Regions from separate parts of the Homo sapiens genome. Here regions 2, 3, 4, 5 and 6 are each linked to region 1. The links are contacts of gene promoters, found by promoter capture Hi-C in blood cells and fetal thymus (Javierre and others, 2016). All regions are on one chromosome and are shown on one strand. Each heading gives the region's core, a stretch centred on a gene start or on the middle of the fragment in contact. The rest is flanking DNA. Distances are from core to core; before and after follow the strand shown.

What was found. The method cuts DNA at HindIII sites, captures the fragments that hold promoters and counts their contacts. A CHiCAGO score of 5 or more calls a contact.
Region 2: a fragment that was not itself captured here is called in contact with the fragment with the promoter of MAP3K4 in region 1 in 1 of 17 cell types (fetal thymus); the score reaches 5.3 in fetal thymus.
Region 3: a fragment that was not itself captured here is called in contact with the fragment with the promoter of MAP3K4 in region 1 in 4 of 17 cell types (monocytes, endothelial precursors, activated CD4 T cells and 1 more); the score reaches 5.9 in monocytes.
Region 4: a fragment that was not itself captured here is called in contact with the fragment with the promoter of MAP3K4 in region 1 in 1 of 17 cell types (monocytes); the score reaches 5.9 in monocytes.
Region 5: a fragment that was not itself captured here is called in contact with the fragment with the promoter of MAP3K4 in region 1 in 2 of 17 cell types (fetal thymus and monocytes); the score reaches 6.2 in fetal thymus.
Region 6: a contact is called between a fragment that was not itself captured here and the fragment with the promoter of MAP3K4 in region 1, in 4 of 17 cell types (M2 macrophages, monocytes, endothelial precursors and 1 more). The highest score is 8.2, in M2 macrophages.

Annotation. Positions count from the first base shown.
Region 1 is chr6:160,990,484-160,993,192 of GRCh38, forward strand. It overlaps MAP3K4 (mitogen-activated protein kinase kinase kinase 4), which reads left to right and starts at 1,286. Exons shown (of 27, transcript NM_005922.4): 1 at 1,286-1,600. The coding sequence starts at 1,449. MAP3K4-AS1 (MAP3K4 antisense RNA 1) reads right to left here and starts at 1,859. Exons shown (of 1, transcript NR_174962.1): 1 at 1-1,859. RefSeq lists enhancers at 722-781, 802-871, 824-1,693 and silencers at 962-1,291, 1,754-2,048, 1,962-2,091. The HindIII fragment of the contact is 10,290 bases long and covers 1-2,709 here.
Region 2 is chr6:161,256,016-161,258,869 of GRCh38, forward strand. The region is part of intron 1 of AGPAT4 (1-acylglycerol-3-phosphate O-acyltransferase 4); the gene reads right to left. Among named protein-coding and RNA genes, the nearest start is that of AGPAT4, 17 kb to the right of the region's middle. The HindIII fragment of the contact is 1,063 bases long and covers 725-1,787 here.
Region 3 is chr6:161,317,023-161,320,119 of GRCh38, forward strand. No RefSeq gene overlaps it. Among named protein-coding and RNA genes, the nearest start is that of AGPAT4, 45 kb to the left of the region's middle. The HindIII fragment of the contact is 3,467 bases long and covers 1-2,994 here.
Region 4 is chr6:161,397,420-161,400,326 of GRCh38, forward strand. The region is part of intron 9 of PRKN (parkin RBR E3 ubiquitin protein ligase); the gene reads right to left. Among named protein-coding and RNA genes, the nearest start is that of AGPAT4, 120 kb to the left of the region's middle. The HindIII fragment of the contact is 2,510 bases long and covers 69-2,578 here.
Region 5 is chr6:161,278,552-161,281,407 of GRCh38, forward strand. No RefSeq gene overlaps it. Among named protein-coding and RNA genes, the nearest start is that of AGPAT4, 5.9 kb to the left of the region's middle. The HindIII fragment of the contact is 5,594 bases long and covers 1-2,856 here.
Region 6 is chr6:161,380,989-161,383,736 of GRCh38, forward strand. The region is part of intron 10 of PRKN (parkin RBR E3 ubiquitin protein ligase); the gene reads right to left. Among named protein-coding and RNA genes, the nearest start is that of AGPAT4, 110 kb to the left of the region's middle. The HindIII fragment of the contact is 483 bases long and covers 1,258-1,740 here.

The sequences.
Region 1 (2,709 bases), core at 36-2,535:
GAAATGAATTATACATGGATACCAATTTGTGATTTTTAAAAATTTGTAATTTTTTAAATTAAGATAAAAATTAGTTTATTTTTTTGAATACTTTTTTGTTTTGTTTTACCTCACCCTTTACTAAGCTGTTAGCTTGGTCTGTTGCGCTTACTGCTATATCCTCAGCATCTAGTACAGTTCCTGACACATATATGCACTTAATAAGTATTTGTCAAATGAATATTATTGAGTAAATAAGATGAAGGTCAATTCAGAAATTCAGCACTATCAGGCTATATACATAATACAGACTATTATAAAAAACTAGAATGGAGCAGTTCCTTTTAACGACGGAGAAATGTCAGTAACATACTTTGAGCACAATATAGCTAATTTCACAACTGGTCTTTAAATATAACATACCTATAATCAATTTAATGTTTTTCTTTGTTACCAGAGTTGTTCAAAACGTGCGTTTCACCTATCAAAGCTCAACTAAATGAGGTTTAAGAAATCTGCACATTTGAATGTACTTAATTTTAAAAGATTCTGGTTTTGGATTAACTCTGGATTTCACCCTATGGGAAATTTTGTAAATATTTCCAACTTAAAAAAAAACTGTGAAGCCCCAGCGCTAAGAGTAAACGATGCATTGGAATTTCAACAGGATTTCTGTAACTCTGAAATAATCTTTAGCATTTCTTCTTCCCCCCATCCCCTCAGTGTAGGAGCATTCCAGTCCAAGTTTCTGGGAGATCGCTATCGAATCTTATGACACTGGGGTGAGAAGTTTTGCCGGGTTGAAATGAGGGGGTCACTTTAATAATCTGGAATTCCGGAGACTTTATGTCAAGTCTTAAAAATTCGAGCCTGTGGAAGGCTGCGCTGTCAAGAGACCGGAGTTGCGAGCGTCTGGGTGACGTCCGTCCTCCTGGAAGGTGGGATCCGGGTGGCAGGTCCCTGGGCGGCGACTCCGGCCGGGCTCATAGCGTCGCGCCCGCCCCGCTCATCGGCCCTACCCAGCGTCCCTCCCAGACCGACGACCGCCTGGGAAGCCTCGAGCTCCCAGCCCGCTGCACAGCCCGGCTCCGCTCCACAGTCCCCCACTGCCACCGGCCGGGGCGACACCGGGCGAGCTGGCGAGACCCGGCTCCAGGACCGAATCGCGCCGACACTTGACGGCGCTCCCCGCCCCTCCCTGCCGCCGTCTCCGCCCCCGTCCGGTCGCATTCCGGCGCCCGCCGCCGCCGCCGCCACCGCCGCCGATCTGGGAGGCTTGTCCCTCGCCGCCCACCGTAGCCCCGGCGCTCGGCCGGTCGCCGTTTCCAAGATGGCCGCGGCGCGCACGGCTCCTGCGGCGGGGTAGAGGCGGAGGCGGAGTCGAGTCACTCCCGCACTTCGGGGCTCCGGTGCCCCGCGCCAGGCTGCAGCTTACTGCCCGCCGCGGCCATGCGGGGCTCCGTGCACGGATGAGAGAAGCCGCTGCCGCGCTGGTCCCTCCTCCCGCCTTTGCCGTCACGCCTGCCGCCGCCATGGAGGAGCCGCCGCCACCGCCGCCGCCGCCACCACCGCCACCGGAACCCGAGACCGAGTCAGAACCCGAGTGCTGCTTGGCGGCGAGGTGAGTGTGGCGGCCGCAGTCGGTCGCTCGCAGAAAGCGGGGCGGGTCCTGGCCCGAACTCGGTCGGGCCCGAGGGCCTCTGCTTCCCGCCAGGTGGGGAGGGAAGCATCCAGTCTCTGCAGGCTGGGGCGGGAGGGGCGCGGTGCATCCCTGGGTCCCAGGGGACCGCGTCTGAGTCTGTCCGGCGACTCCTCCCGGGGTTGCAGCTCCGCAGGGTTCCGCTCGAGCGTGTTGCCGGCTCCCCTTCCCTTGTAGACTCCCCCAGCTCACCCTCAACGTTGCGGGGGCTGGGAGCAGAGTGCGGCTGCCTCCCCTGCCGCTAGCTTCGGAAGAGTGGCCTCACTGAAGTGCCTCTCATCATTACTGAACGAAAGTGGTCCCTCCCCTCTGCCCTCATTCGAGTAAAAGAGACATTCGGAAATCGAGTGCGTACTGGCTATTTCCCCGCGTTCTCCTCCTCCTCTCCTTTTGCCCGCTCCAGAGAATGCCTGTCATCTCTTCCGTGAGAAATTGCACTTAGACTATGCAGACAGATACGTTGCTTTCCTGTTCTGAGGGCCCCTTACTGTCCTTTAGTGCTAGTATTGTGCAGATTGTTGCTCACACGTGCACAAAAGTAAGGATTCATTTGTCTAAAACTTTGCTACTGCAGGAAGCTCTAAGGTGGAACTTCGGTAACCAAAGCATTTGTTGCTTTTTCTTCCATACTCTATTAACTTATTTTTATGTCTTTATTTTTTTTTTAATTGAGAGAACAAACTCACCATAACTGAGAATTTCCCTCTTTTTACGTGCCTATGTTTGTATGTTCAAATGTCCTCTTACTCCCTGTCCTTTGCATCCCAGAGTAAACTTGCAAACTGCTGCCCCCTGTCCCCTGTAATGAAAATACCTCGGCAGCTCCTCTTGGCATCTTATGGTCTTGCTCTATGGTTCTAGGAATAAGGCAGTAAAGTGTCCTCTTTTTCCTGCTTAAAGAAAATTCACACCTGTAACTGTAGTTAGAACTGAACACAGGAGCCATATTCTTGCTTGTCATCATTCAGTTGGCCCAAACAAATTTGTTTTATTTTTATAAGCTGTGAAGAAATTAGTTGCCTCTTTTAATT
Region 2 (2,854 bases), core at 6-2,505, 270 kb after region 1:
AGCTGCAGAAAGGAGTCAGGGAGTTTCAGCCTGCAGGAAAAAGCCACTCCACCCTCACCCAGGCAGAGCAAGGTGTCCAGGCGAGGCCGGTTGGCAGGATGTTACTGCCCACCACAGCACTTGCAGGAAGTAAAACAGATCCCCCTCAACTGAAATGATCTCGGAGACTGGTCCTTAAGTAGGACTGGCCCTTACCCTGGATCCTGAGTATAGGCAATGGGCAAAGCTGGAAGGATACGAAAACCTGGCTAACACCCTAAGTTTCCCAGGCAAGAGGAAATCAACCCCAGGCACGCATGGTGACGGCAGCGACCGCCACCATCTAGAAGAATTAGGCTTTGTGCCTAAGATTGGGGAAAAGTCTTCGGTGGATCAAATATTTTGTTCTCCTTCCTGTGAGGCTGCTTTGAAAAGCTGAGATTAAACACTCTGCTGATGTTCCTCACCACCAGCGCTGCTCTCTGCCGTGTGTCATGGATGAACACATTTGCTGTGTTCACATGAAATGTGGGGAGAAGTTCCAGGGCTGAAATACGTGACAGACATGACACTCGTGCTATGAAACCAGCTTCCTCTGATAGCCACACAGCGGAGCTGACACGTCCTCCCTGAAGCAGGCTCGGGAGGCAGAGACGGCGTCTGATGGCTCCCCCGGTCCCTGCAGCCTGTACACAGTCGACACTGACAAAGAGCGTTCCCGAAAGAAATCTGGTGGATTGCCAAAAGCTTCATTAATTAATGAAATCAGTGGGGAGATAAATAATTGAAGGGAAAGAAATGGGTTCATCAGTTTGGCAACACTGAAATTTTCATGCATTCTGCCTAGGAGACGAATAAGCCCACAAGACAGGCATCAAGAATGGATGTGCCTTTTCTCCAGTTTTAGGTCTGGGAGAGTTTCCACTTTCCCAAAAGTCAGCCTTTGGCATCACGTTGGAGACGCCTGTTGCGAGCTCCCTGCAGACCAGCCACCTTAGCCAGTGGGCGTGGAGGCAGAGGTCTTCACTTTTCCTCTAAGTCCTTACTAAGAATTTTCCTGTGCCCTAAATGAGATGTTGGAGATGGGGGGAAAGTGGCAATGAAAACAGCACTTGTTTCTAACATGAACTTTGGATCAGGATAAAAGTAGTAAACTTAAAATTAGATGAATGCTAAAATGTTCCAAATATCCATCACCCGGTGAATAAAGAAGCAAGAGATGGTACAGCCACAGGACGGAAGACCACTAACAAGAAGGAACCAGTCCCGGCTCCATGCATGCCACGGGTGGATCTCAAGCATATTATGCTAAATGAACAGAGCCAGACACAGAACAATACATAGTGAATTATCCCACTCATAGGCAATACCTATCAAAGGCCAAATTACAGACACAGAAACTGGATCACTGATTGTCTGAGCTACAGACACATGTGAGGATGGATCCTGTGGGCATGAGGAGACTTTTGGGATGAGAGAGGCGTTCTAAGCTGGATTTTGGTGATGGTTACACAACGCCAAATTTACCAAAACTCATTGAACTATACACTTAAAATGGGTGAATTTATGGTATGTAAATTATATCTTAGTAATGCCATTAAAAAATTAAATGAAGACAGAAGTTTTTAAAACTGCTGAAATCCAACATCAAAAAAATGATCAAAGGGTTCTTGAAATATGAGAAGTCAATTTAAATTAATTTTCTTCATGGAAATTAAAAAGGAATGTGGACAAGAAGGAGAAAGAGAAGAAAAAAAAAGGAAAGACAGCGTTAGTCCCACCTTCTATTTCATATGGAAGTGAATACAAGCTTATTCTGTTGTTCCATTAGCTATGAACCCATCTGGTCCCAATCCCCAGGTCACCATCATATACACAAGGATGTGGTGACGCAGTCTGTCAAATGTTTACTTTACAGGATCACCCTTGCTCTGGCACTTTCTCAACTGACTCACCCAGTAACGGTACCAATGAAATAAGTGAGGTTAACTCAACATGATTTAGTTTTGGCGCACACATCCTGGCTCCATGGGATCATTTATTACTTCCTACGTTAAAACACTTGGAAGGAAAAAACTCCTGCGTGCCAGAATGAAAGTTCTAGTATTTACACTTCTCAACTTTTAAAAACAAGGAATTTTACTTATCTCCAGTCTTATGACACTTTTTTTCCTCCATGAGACCTCAAAGACTGAGAGTGGCAGTTCAGAGATGAAAACTCTACGTCCATTGTCTTCCCTAAAAAGTGACTTCCCTTGGCTGCAATAACGGAAGTAACTCAAAATGACTGCACTCCCATCTTCAGGCTGTTCTATCCTTTCCCATTTGAAAACAAATTTCCTGCAAACGGGTTGGCAGATTCTCCAAATACCTGAGAGTATCCAACAACCATTTTTAGACTTTTGTTTTGTACAAAGTTATCTTCTCTGAATCTATAAACTTTTCCACCTCTTGGTGGAAATTTTCAAATGTATATTTATGTTCATGTCTTGAATCATAAGACAAGCAAAATACAGAAAGAAAAAACACAACTAAAATTGACACAAGAGAGCAATAACCTCTCACAGTCCTAGAAAACAGGAGAGTTCTCTTATCTGGGGCAACTTCAGCTTTGGACTTCACCACCTATATATGTTGGGAGATGGTTCTTATTTCTCCTCCCCACCCCACTCCCCGCAAAAAACACAGAAACACCATCCACAGAGAGTCATTACTCAAGCTAGGTTGTAGCAAGACTTGGTTGAAAGTTTAATCACATGGCTAGATGTGAAAGACTTGGGGACTATTTTACCACAAGCATTTAATTTTTTTTTTTTTTTGGAGAATGAGTCTCACTCTATCGCCCAGGCTGGAAGTGCAGTGGCACAATCTAGGC
Region 3 (3,097 bases), core at 11-2,510, 330 kb after region 1:
TTTAGTAGAGACGGAGTTTTGCCGTGTTGGCCAGGCTGGTCTCGAACTCCTGACCTCAGGTGATCCACTCACCTTGGCCTCCCAATGTGTTGGGATTATGGGCATGAGCCACCGCTCCTAGCCCTTGCTGCACCTTTTCTATGTTTAGATGCACAAAAACCGTTGTGTTACAATTATCTACAGTATTCAGTAAAGTCCCATGCTGTACAGGTTGGTAGCCTGAGAGAAACAGGTGCCTCATGGGCTATACCATCTAGGTTTGTGTAAGTGTACTCTAACATGTTTACACAACAAAGTTGCCTAAGAATGCATTTTTTTTTTTTTAATTTGAGACGGAGTCTTGCTGTGTTGCCCAGGCTGGAGTGCAGTGGCGTGATCTTGGCTCACTGCAACCTCCCTCTTCTGGGTTCAAGCGATTCTCCTGCCTCAGCCTCCCCAGTAGCTGGGATTATAGGAGTGCACCACCATGTCTGGCTAATTTTTGTATTTTTAGTAGAGACGGAGTTTCCATGTTGGCCAGGCTGGTCTCGAACTTCTGACCTCAGGTGATCTGCCCTCCTCAGCCTCCCAAAGTGCTGGGATTACAGGTGTGAGCCACCGTAACAATGGATTTCTCAAAACACCTGGCCCTAACAATGGATTTCTCAAAACATATCCTCATTGTTAAGAGAGGCATGACTGTATGTACACAGTATATACACATTATATATATGTGTGTGTGTGCTTATGTGTATATATACATATGTGTATGTGTATATGTACATATAGTGGCAATGATCGTGCTGTCAGGTTCTACAAAATCCTCTTTGTACCCAAACACTGCTGATCCAACAAACGTGACCACAGTGGAATCTGTATGTGTACATATACACACACATATGTATATACTTTTTGCCAAACTGTTTGATGTCGTAGACATCATGATACTTCACCCCTAAATATATATCTCTCAAGAATAATGACATTCTCCTACTCAATTACAATATAATTATACTCTTTGGGAATTATACATTGCCACAATAGTAGGATCTAACACAATGTCTTCTAGAGCTCGTTTTTTTTCCAGAGATGATGTAATCTTTACCTTTGATTCTGCTCTTTTGCCCCTCTCTGCTTAACCTGCTCCACTCAGGATCTAGCAAGAGATGTCACACATAAGGCCCCAAATAACTTAGGGAGTTGAATGAATGAAAGAATGGATGCATAAATGTGAAAATCCTTTCTGATGTGTCTTCAGGACGTGGAAAGGTGCATGACCCCATGTGGGAATTCAGTGACCTTCAAGCCCTTCTCATTGGTCTAGACAGAAACCTTACACCTGGCAGGATATGCATTTTGCAGCTGAGGCTCTTTGTGAGCAGTTTGGTGATATTTAAGTTCCTGGTGATTAGGGAAACCGTCAGGAGCTTGGCAAACCTATTCAAAATACAACATATTAAAATTCCTGTTAATCATAGATCTTAAAAGCACTGGGCTACAACACTTGGTTAAAGTACCAAAAATGCAAACCAGTTATTATGAAAACAAAGCCGGGGAAGTAGGTGGCACTGCATTGTAGGAGTCTACATTCAGCAACAAAAGAGGGCACAGGCTCTACTGTGGTCACATTCATTGCATCAGCAGTGTTCGGTACAAAGAGGCTTTTGTGAAACCTGACGGCACGATCATTGCACAGGCACACCATTGAACGAAGGCAGACTTTCCCCTTCTATGAAAGGATAATTTTCTTCTCATATTTGACACCGATTAGCTCTAGCAGAGAATTCTATTTAAAGCAATCCCTTGAAATTAGACCATGTATGCCAAGGGCAGGGCTGTGTATTCAGCCCTGTCTTCCTAGCAACTTTAGCGATGTATCCTAAGTATGGGAGGAGGGCACTGAAAAAGTGAGGCATGAAAGAGATATATCTAATAATCATGACTACTTACTATCACAACTTAGAAGAAATAGCTGGATTTCAATCTCTTTTCCCAATCCGACGGTTTATTATTTTCCTTTTTTCTTCCAAAATTTCATACGCATCCCAAGTTTTAGCATAATGATATCAGCAGCAAGTTGTTAAATAAGTTCTGTGGGCTCATCAAAGCAATTATCTTAAAGTGTTCTATGAAACAGCATTGGTTCAGTGCTGATTGCGTTATAAACTTTGAAATGAAGAGCACTGCACTTTAGAAACTCCAGGTTATGAAGAATTTTCTGTTTTTCATTTTGGCCTCCTTCTCTACTAACCAATGTGTTTGAAAACCTGTAATGTGACTCTTCAGGTTAGAGGGTGAGTTTTTTAACCCTTCCCCAGCTCTCAACACTATCCCTCTCCATCTCCAGCCTTTGAGTTCTGTCTAGCACTCACCATAGGATATGTCCTGATGAAAGCCTCATTGTTCCACATCTGAGAAGATCAGTTGCTGTGCACAGCTGCATGGGAACTGGATCCAGTCCCCATCTGGATCTAGGAACAAATCGGTCCCTAGCAGCTTGACAACTGCTCATTGTCTAGTCAAGGGGGTTGCTTTCTTTTCCTGGAAAACGTCTTCCAGGGTACATTTGATATGAAGTTTTCACTGCTCATAAAGTTAGGGGGAAGGAGACTGGAAGCTCAGGGCAGAGGTACCACAGTTATCAAGTTCTATTTGTTTTGCAAACTCTAGGTTTTCTTTATTATGTGTTTCCTTTGTCCACATGAATCTTGTGGACATTTCTTGGTCTAAATTAATGGTATTTTCTCCTGAACAGTGGTTCTTCAAATATTACCCAAAATGAAGGAGGGAAGGATCATTTTTAAAAATCCCAAGTAGTTCTATTTTATTTGTACAAGTGAATAATTTCCTACAGGATAAAATAAAAGACATTGATAATAAGAATACTAGTAACTATTGTTTAAGAAGCATGGTTACTATTACAATAGTGGAATTTAAGGACATGTTTTGGTTATTTTATAAATTGCATTATTCTATCCTGTATCTTTTAAATTGAGTAATAGATTTCTTAAAAGAAGCTTATAAGATATTAGTTAGAACAATCAGCATATTTGATAAATAAAATGACAACCAGTAAAACTGCCACCTCCCTGGATGAAAAAAGCATTGTATTATTCCC
Region 4 (2,907 bases), core at 74-2,573, 410 kb after region 1:
AGCACGTGGAGATAGCATTTGTTTTTCTGCCCTTCACATTTGCCCCTTCAGGGAGCATTCTAACATCAAGCTTAATTGACTGCCTCTCTTCTAACAACTTCTCAAAATCTATTCCACCCTTCCCAACTCCTCTTTTAAGATGCACTTTGCCTATTGCATATTTCCATTTGGATAGGTTGCAGTCACCTCAAATTCAAGTCACTTCTAATTCCACGTGATTATCATGAAGTTGCAAGGACCTAACAGAATAATGGCAATCATCAAACCTTTGCAGAATAAACAAGCAGTAGTAGCTGGAAAAGCCTCAACTTCTGAGAAGCAGAAGAGGATAGCACAGTGCTGAGGAAACCCAGTACTGAGAATGGAGAGGTCAATCCTGAGTACAAGAGGAATAACTAAGACTTTCTGCCAGGGAAAGTACTTTAGTGACCTCGGAGGCCATAATTTTGGTCCAATGGTTCAATGGTCAGCTAGATTCAGAGGCTAAGATCACAGGCATGATGGGGTGGAAAAGGCTTCACAACAGAGAGCTCTGAATCAGTTTGAAAACAGCAAAAGATGATGAAAAGAGAGAGAATGAAGACGCTAGCCAGAGAGGGGGCAGGATGGGAGTGAAGTCCCAGAGAAAGTCGAGGCTAGGGAGACACACTCAAAGGTTTATGGCTTTCAATGGAGGAGGATAAGGTTTTGCAGCAAAATCCTAGGAGAGTCACATTGATGAGAGAGTTTTCTCAAGGAGATGACACCCATGCCCTTGGTCTTCCTAACAGAGCACCATAGCAGCTCTGAATCTTCTGGAGTCTAGGGGGAGAGGAGAGTCACAGATAGAGAGGAGGCTGAAACAGTTACTGTCAGTTGGAGCATCCATGAGACATGAATTGAAGGGACGCCCATCCATGTTGATAACTAAATTCACATCACAGCACTGGCTCTAGTTAGTTCCCTAGAATGTGGTTCCCAGACTAGCACCATCAGCATCACCCAGGAGCATGTCAGAAAACCCGAATTTCAGGCCCCACCCAAGAAGTACTAGACCAGAATCTTTCATTTTACCAGGATCCCCGAGTGACTTGTATGCACCATTTAGAGACCCTGTTCTAGCTCATTCATTCAACCAAAAGTTCCTACTCAGGAACTCCACTCAGAATGTATGCTGTGCATTGCTGGAGCCTGCAAAGATGCAGAACGTATGTAATTTCCAGTTTCAGAGGAGTCACAATTCACCTCTCCCTTGCTCTACCCAATGCTCCCTCCATTCCACAAGTACTCATCAAGCATGTACTGTGTGTGAATGGTAAGGCACTGGCCATTCTTCATGGCCTCACAGAGTTCACAGTCAGCTGTGTCCTGATCATATGATGGATGTGAGGTTCCATGGGAGCACAGTGTTGAACCTGGGAGGTGCAGGTTGTAGTGAGGAGATGAGGAGGTTACAGACAGGAGACAGGGAAATATTGGGTAGAAGAGGGCAGTTCCCCAGCAAAGGCCTGACCCTCAAGCCTGGAAACCCATGGCCCTAAATGGGAACAGGCATTCCTGTTTTCACACCCAAATGTTGCCTTTTGGCCTGTCATGCCCCCCTATCCTGTCCCTATATAAACTCCAAACCCCAGGCTCCATGAGCAGAAGAGCAGCAGAGGAGAGAAGAGAAGGAATATCTGAATGTCGAGAGGAGTTCTGCTGCAGACAGTTAGAGAGGAGATTGGCTGCTGGACGGCCCAACTCCAGGGGAAGATCATCTTTCTACTCCATCCCCTTTCCAGCTCCCCATCCATCCATCCCACTGAGAGCCACATCCACCACTCAATAAAACCCTGCAGTCACCATCCTTCAAGTCCATGGGTGACCTGATTTTTCTGGATGCCAGACAAGAACTTGGAATATGGAAAGCTGTCACACTGGCCCTCTGCCCTTGCAAAAAGGCAGAGGGTCCACTGAGCTGTTTAACACTTAAGCTGTCTGCAGACAGCAAAATTAAAAGAGCGCACTGTAACACACAGCTAACTGGGCTTTGGGAGTCACAGGCACCCATCCCTAGACACTACTGTGGGGCCAGAGCCCAGAAGTGCTCGTCCTGGCTCCTGCACCTGCTCATCTGCATGCTCCCCCTCCCATAAGGAGTTTGAGCAGTGGTGGTGGCTGAACTGATGAGCCATATGCCTGTTGCATGTCCTGCAACCGGGGTGGGTCAGGGAACTCTCCCGTTTCAGCAGTAAGAAGAGGAAGGTGAACTGGGACCAATGGAGTTTGCTGGAAATGATAGCCCCCAGAAAGTACCAATCCCAGTGCTAGGGATGATGCCAGCATTCTAGTGTAATTCACTCTGCTAGTGTAATTCTGCAACACTTTTGTCTTTTTGATTTTGAAACCACCGTGAAAGGATACAGCCTAGAACAGTGCTGTCCAATTGAAACAGCAATAATTTTTAATGGTCTAGTAGCTATATGAAAAGAGGAAAAAGAAACAAGTAAAATTAATTTCAATATTTTACTTAACTAAATATATTCAAAATTGTATCATTTCAACATGCAATCGATATAAAAATTGGTAATGAGTTATTTTATATTCATTTTTACTAAGCTTTTGGAATCGGGTCTGCTTTTACTCTTTCAATGCATCTCAGTTGGGACTAGCCCTATTCTATGGGCTCAGGAGCCTCACGTGGGCACCATGTTGGACAGGAGCCTCACAGGGCTAGTGGCCACCATGCTGGCCACCACGCTGGACTGCGCAGGTCTACAAGGACCCTGCTGTCTGAGGACTCCTTGCACGATGCAGAGTTCAGTTAAGGGTCCACAGAACAAAAGCGACAGAACACCTCCAATATTTTAGAAGAAAGTAGGATGAGGTGAGCTGGGGACATGGGGAAGATTAGAAAATTAAACCTAATCTTTTTTTTTTTTTTGA
Region 5 (2,856 bases), core at 49-2,548, 290 kb after region 1:
TTGTTCTTGATATTTACTTGGCTTTTTTCTCTTATTGCCATCTTCAGGTCAATTCAGCCCGCCTGAGATGGCCCCAGAAAGCCACCCACTACCCTGTCCTGAATTCAGGCAATGAGCAACTTGAAATCATACGATACAGAAGCAAATCTACCACAACAGAAGGAACTGAATTCAAATCAATTAACGCATAACTGATTGGCAACAAATTGAAAAAGATACCAGTTTCACAACCTGATTTTAAAAGACAAGGTAATACGATGCCAATACTGAAACCTAGCACTTGTATTCTTCATAGCCAAGTGACAATAGAGCACATTAGTTCAAGTGGTATGAAACTTGGGATGATTTTTACTGTCATTGCATGGTATGTGATTTTTTTTTTTTTTTTTTTTTTTTTTGAGACGGAGTCTCGCTGTCGCCCAGGCTGGAGTGCAGTGGCGCGATCTCGGCTCACTGCAAGCTCCACCTCCTGGGTTCACGCCATTCTCCCGCCGCAGCCTCCCCAGTAGCTGGGACTACAGGCGCCCGCCACCACGCCCGGCTAATTTTTTGTATTTTTAGTAGAGACGGGGTTTCACCGTGTTAGCCAGGATAGTCTCGATCTCCTGACCTCGTGATCCGCCCTCCTCGGCCTCCCAAAGTGCTGGGATTACAGGCGTGAGCCACCGCGCCCGGCCTATGTGATTTTTTTAAGAACAATTTTCGTAAGCATGCATTACTTTTACAAACAGAAAACTAAAGCTATATTTGTACCAGCCTGGGCAACATGGCAAAACCCTGTCTTTACAGAAAACACAAAAATTAGCCAACCATGGTGGTGCACACCTGTAGTCCCAGCTACTTGGGGGACCGAGGCAGGAGGATACCTGAGCCCTGGAGGTCGGGGCTGCAGTGAGCTGTGTTCATGCCACAGCACTCCAGCCTAGGTGACAAAGTAAGACCCTGTTTCAAAAAAAGAAAAAGCTATATTTATTTTCTAAAATAAGTATTTATTGTTATCCATTGTTGACATAATGCTTTTCTTTATTTGGTAGTTGTTATAGCTTACAGCATGATGGCACCTTGGAGGGTGGCCTAATTGGAGTGCGATCCTGAGCCAGCAGCATCAGTATCACCTAGGAACTTGTTGGAAATGCAGAGTCTCAGGCCCCACCCCAGGTCTGGTGAATACATACTGCATTTTAACAACATCCCCAGAAGATTCACTAAAGTTTGAGAAGTACTCGTGTCAATCCAAATCCCTCATTTAACAGAGGAGGGATCAGAGCCAGGGAGGCTGGGTTTGCCTGTCCAGGGTCACACAAGTAACAGGAAGCAGCGCTGAACCAGACTCAGTGTTTAATGATTCTCACCACAGAATTCTTTCCACTGTATTTCCTAGGATTTCAGATCCAAAGGCAAGGCTGAAACAAAATTCTATTAACATGAAAGAGTAAAAAGACAATTTCTACTTAAACTCATGATCATTCTACGAAGTGTCATTGAAAGTCCATCTGTAGTACATGCGTTTTGAGTTTATATAGAGAGAGTCAGTTTTACACCCAAAAAATAGCACTGAAATTAGGCAACTATCAGACAAAAGTTGGCAGAAGGTATAGGAGATCTTTTCTCCAGGATCGCTCATTTTATCTTGGTTTAAAGCCAAAGCTATGTCTAGTTCAATGAAACTTAGCTTCAAGATTGATTTGCAAGAGAGGCAGCAGAAAAGAAAAGGATCCCAGCTGGCCTCCGTGTCTCTGTTCTTGCCCCCTCCAGTCTGCTTCTCACCCACAGCCTTTGCAAAAGTGAGTTTTGCAAAACAAAAATGAGAACATGCTGCTCTCCTCTCTGAATTTGGGTACCCCGAGAGTCCCCTGTATTCTTATAATAAATTTTACCATTAAGCTAGCTTTGTCATTTGCAACCAGAGTCCTAATTCTTAAGTTTTGGAGACTCAACGTTCCTTATACACAAAATTCATGGGTCTAGTTGTGATGTTCAAATGAGACAGAATGTGTGAAGCACCAGAAATAATGTAGAACCTCAAAAAATGACCACTCTTTCCTCCTCCCTTCACCCCATCCATTAATATACAGGTAACTTTCAGATCTATATTTCCAGTTGGCATTTTTTCCCTAAACCTCAGACAGTTATCCAATAACCTGGTAAATATCTTCATTTATCTGTCCCAAAGGAAGCTCAAATTGAACAAGTCCAAAAACAAACCTTTGGCCCCAACTTGGCCAGTTCTCTGAGGTCCAATTTCCCAACTTTCTAGTTCCACACTTTGGTGCAACTGATGACTTTGAAGTTATCTTCTATTCTTCCCTGTTCCTCTTGCTTCTTTTCCCCCCACCAACCCCTAAAGCATCCTATTAATTCTCTTCCCTCACAGCCCTCAAAGCATCCTGTTAATTCTCTTCTCAAAGATATTTCTCCAAAGTCCTCTCCTCTCACCACCACTGCTCCTGGGTTAGTACAGGGCCCCTCTACTCTTGAATGACTTCAAAGAAACCTCTTCTTCTACTTTTTATTTCAGGAGAAAAGTCAAATTATTTAGAATGACATGCAAGATGTTTCATGATCTGGCTCTCTCTCTCTCTCTCTCTCTCTCTAGTTTCATCTCTTATCTCTTTCCATACTGTCTGAGTCCGTTTTTCACTGCTATAACCGGTTACTACAGACTGGATCACTTATAAAGAACAGGGGTTTACTTGGCTCACAGTTCTAGAGACTGCGAAGTCCAAGAGCATGGCATTGCATCTGGGAGAGTAAACCCATGGCAAAGGTATCACATTGTAAGGAAGCATGCACGAGAGACAGAGAGAAAATGAGGACCAAACTTATCCTTTTATCAGTATCCCACTCCCGTGATAG
Region 6 (2,748 bases), core at 249-2,748, 390 kb after region 1:
GGCTATGTGTCATTATGCTTGCAGGCTTTTGTGTTGATGTGTTTTTGTTGTTCTGTTTGTTTTAATAGGAAAAGCAGAAGAAAATGAAATTTATCTTTGCATCCTTATCAAAATATTGACAGGTCCATGAAGCAGGCTTCAACTCTGCCTCACTCATTTAAGGGTTGTGTTGCTGTTGGCATTTGAGTTGGCCATCCCTGGTATTGTGTTTGACAAGCCAACAACAGCCCACTCATCCCCCTCTTTCAAAAGGCAGAGTGACCAGTAAGAACAATGGAAGCGCATTTCTGCTTCACTGGGACTGGAGTGGTCATCAGTGCTGGCTGGTGCAGCTCCCAAAGACCTGGGTAAAATAATGGTCTGGGGCTTGTCAACTCTATGCCCCTGGGTGGCCACTCTCCCTCCCTCTCCCTTGCCTATGGACAAAATCTATCACAAAAACTTGAGATAAGCCTCAGAATAAGATGGTGTACGTGAAAGTGCTTTGTAATCAAGCACGATACAAGTGCATATCCCAAGCAAATTATTATATTTATCCCAAGCAAATGGTGGGTTTATTTTTCTAATTTAGGAGGCAGATGGAAGGAACTGAGGTTTACTGTGGAAATCTAATTTTCTTTTATGATTCAAAAGATTACTGAGACATAATCCAGCCCTGAAGCTACTGTCTATTCTTTTCCTGTACTTACCCAGCTTCATGGTAGGGAGGGAGGTGTGTGGATGAAGGAGGGATTTGTCATTCATTCAACAAACACTTAATGAGCACCTACTCTGTGCCAGGCACTGCAGGATACAGGATGCGACAGGCACAAACCCTCCACTAACAAAGCCCAGACTTTTTAGGCCGGGCGCAGTGGCTCATGCCTGTAATCCCAGCACTTCGGGAGGCCAAGGCGGGTGGATCACGAGGTCAGGAGATTGAGACCATCCTGGCTAACACAGTGAAACCCCGTCTCTACCAAAAATACAAAAAATTAGCCGGGTGCAGTAGCAGGTGCCTGTAGTTTCAGCTACTTGGAAGGCTGGGGCAGGAGAATGGCGTGAACCCGGGAGGCAGAGCTTGCAGTGAGCCAAGATAGCGCCATTGTAGTCCGGCCTGGGTGAAAGAGCGAGACTCCATCTCAAAAAAAAAAAAAAAAAAAAAATCAAAACAAAAACAAACAAACAAACAAACAAAACAAAGCCCAGACTTTTTGTGAAGATACAGAGAAACGATATTTCAAGTGACGAATGTATCAGAATGTACAGTTGTCTGAAAGCTTACAGGATGTAGTGGGGAGGGCAGATGGCTTCTGGGAGGAGGTAACATGATCTGGGCCTAGAATGTTGAGCAGGAGGCATGGTTGGTAGGCAGGCATGGGCACATTCCCCTCAGACACTGTAGATCTATTAGAGAGAGCAGTTGCTGATCCCCAACTACTTAGGTAAAGTATAGCCACTGAAATTGATCTCTTCTGCGGCTTTAGAGAGCACCACTAAAAATCTGGAAGTCTCAGTCTGCACTCCTGCTGAATAGGGAGAGGAACATCAACTACCTAGAACCAGTTTATGTGGCTTTTGCAAGAGCAAGTGTGTAGTTATTAGCAAGCCTCCAGGGGCAATACGCGGAAGGAACTGGAACACGGGGAGGAGAACAAGCAGGGAAAAACAAGGAAAGCAAACGGGACTGGACTCTCGTTAGTCTGTGATGGATTGATCTTCTGTCACTGCTTTCCCAAACTCCCAGCAGTTTCAACGTAAAGCTTGTTCAATATTTTAAAACCAATTTAAAGCCAATTTTTGAGTTTGCTTTAAAGAATTATTGCATTAATCAAAAAATACATTAAGTTTTAGGTCCAACAGTCTAACTGATAGGAAAAGCTGATTGGGACTCAAGAGAAATGGGCTCTCCTGGCTGGAGCATGTAATGTGCAAGAACAGAAACCAATCAATGCTAAAGGGAAGAACAGCAGAAACGAGTCACAAATGGCTCAAAGCAAAGAACCCTGCAACTGAATGGAATTGAAAGAAAGTGTGAAGAGGGCTGATGAGGGTATTTAGTTATTATTAGCAAAATTCAGATGTGAGAACACATCTAAAGCCTTCGGTTCCAAGGGAGGCTGCAATTGGGCTTTCATTGTGAGATGTGTAGAGTGTCATCCTTTCAAAGATTTCAGGTCAATGAAACTGCAGAGGTCATCCTCCTGGAGACCATGCTGCTTGAGAGAAATGTAGGGAACAGAAAATAAGCCAGCTCTATGAAAATAAAAGCCCTTCATTCTGTTATCAAATCGAATTGGGTCATGAAATTTGAAGAAATAGCTTGTTTGGTTCGTGCCTTCCCACATCCAAAAGCAGCTATGGTTGAAATAAGGAAACTTGGGAAGATTGGTAAATTCGCTCATAGAGAAGGTGCTGGTAATTCTGTATTCTTTCCCCTCTCTGCTTTGCATCTGGAAGGCTGGCTCCCATGGGCTGTGCCCCTAGGATCCCTTGTGTCTGGCTTCGGTGGGGTATGGCCCATGGGAGACATTAGCAAGAGATCGGATGGCAGGAGGCAGGAGGCAAGATGTCCATGCTCACTCCCTTCCTGTGTGGGGCTACTTCCAGGCAACGCTGGATGCTCCGTGATGACACCTCCTGTCATGAGGCCCCTTCTCCATGGCTGCAGCTCATGGGGTTCATGGGACTCTTCCTCCCCCTGCCTTTACAGGCCTGGGGTGGTCATGGCTCCCCAGTGATGCTCGCTCTGAGGCCCTCAGCCCTGTG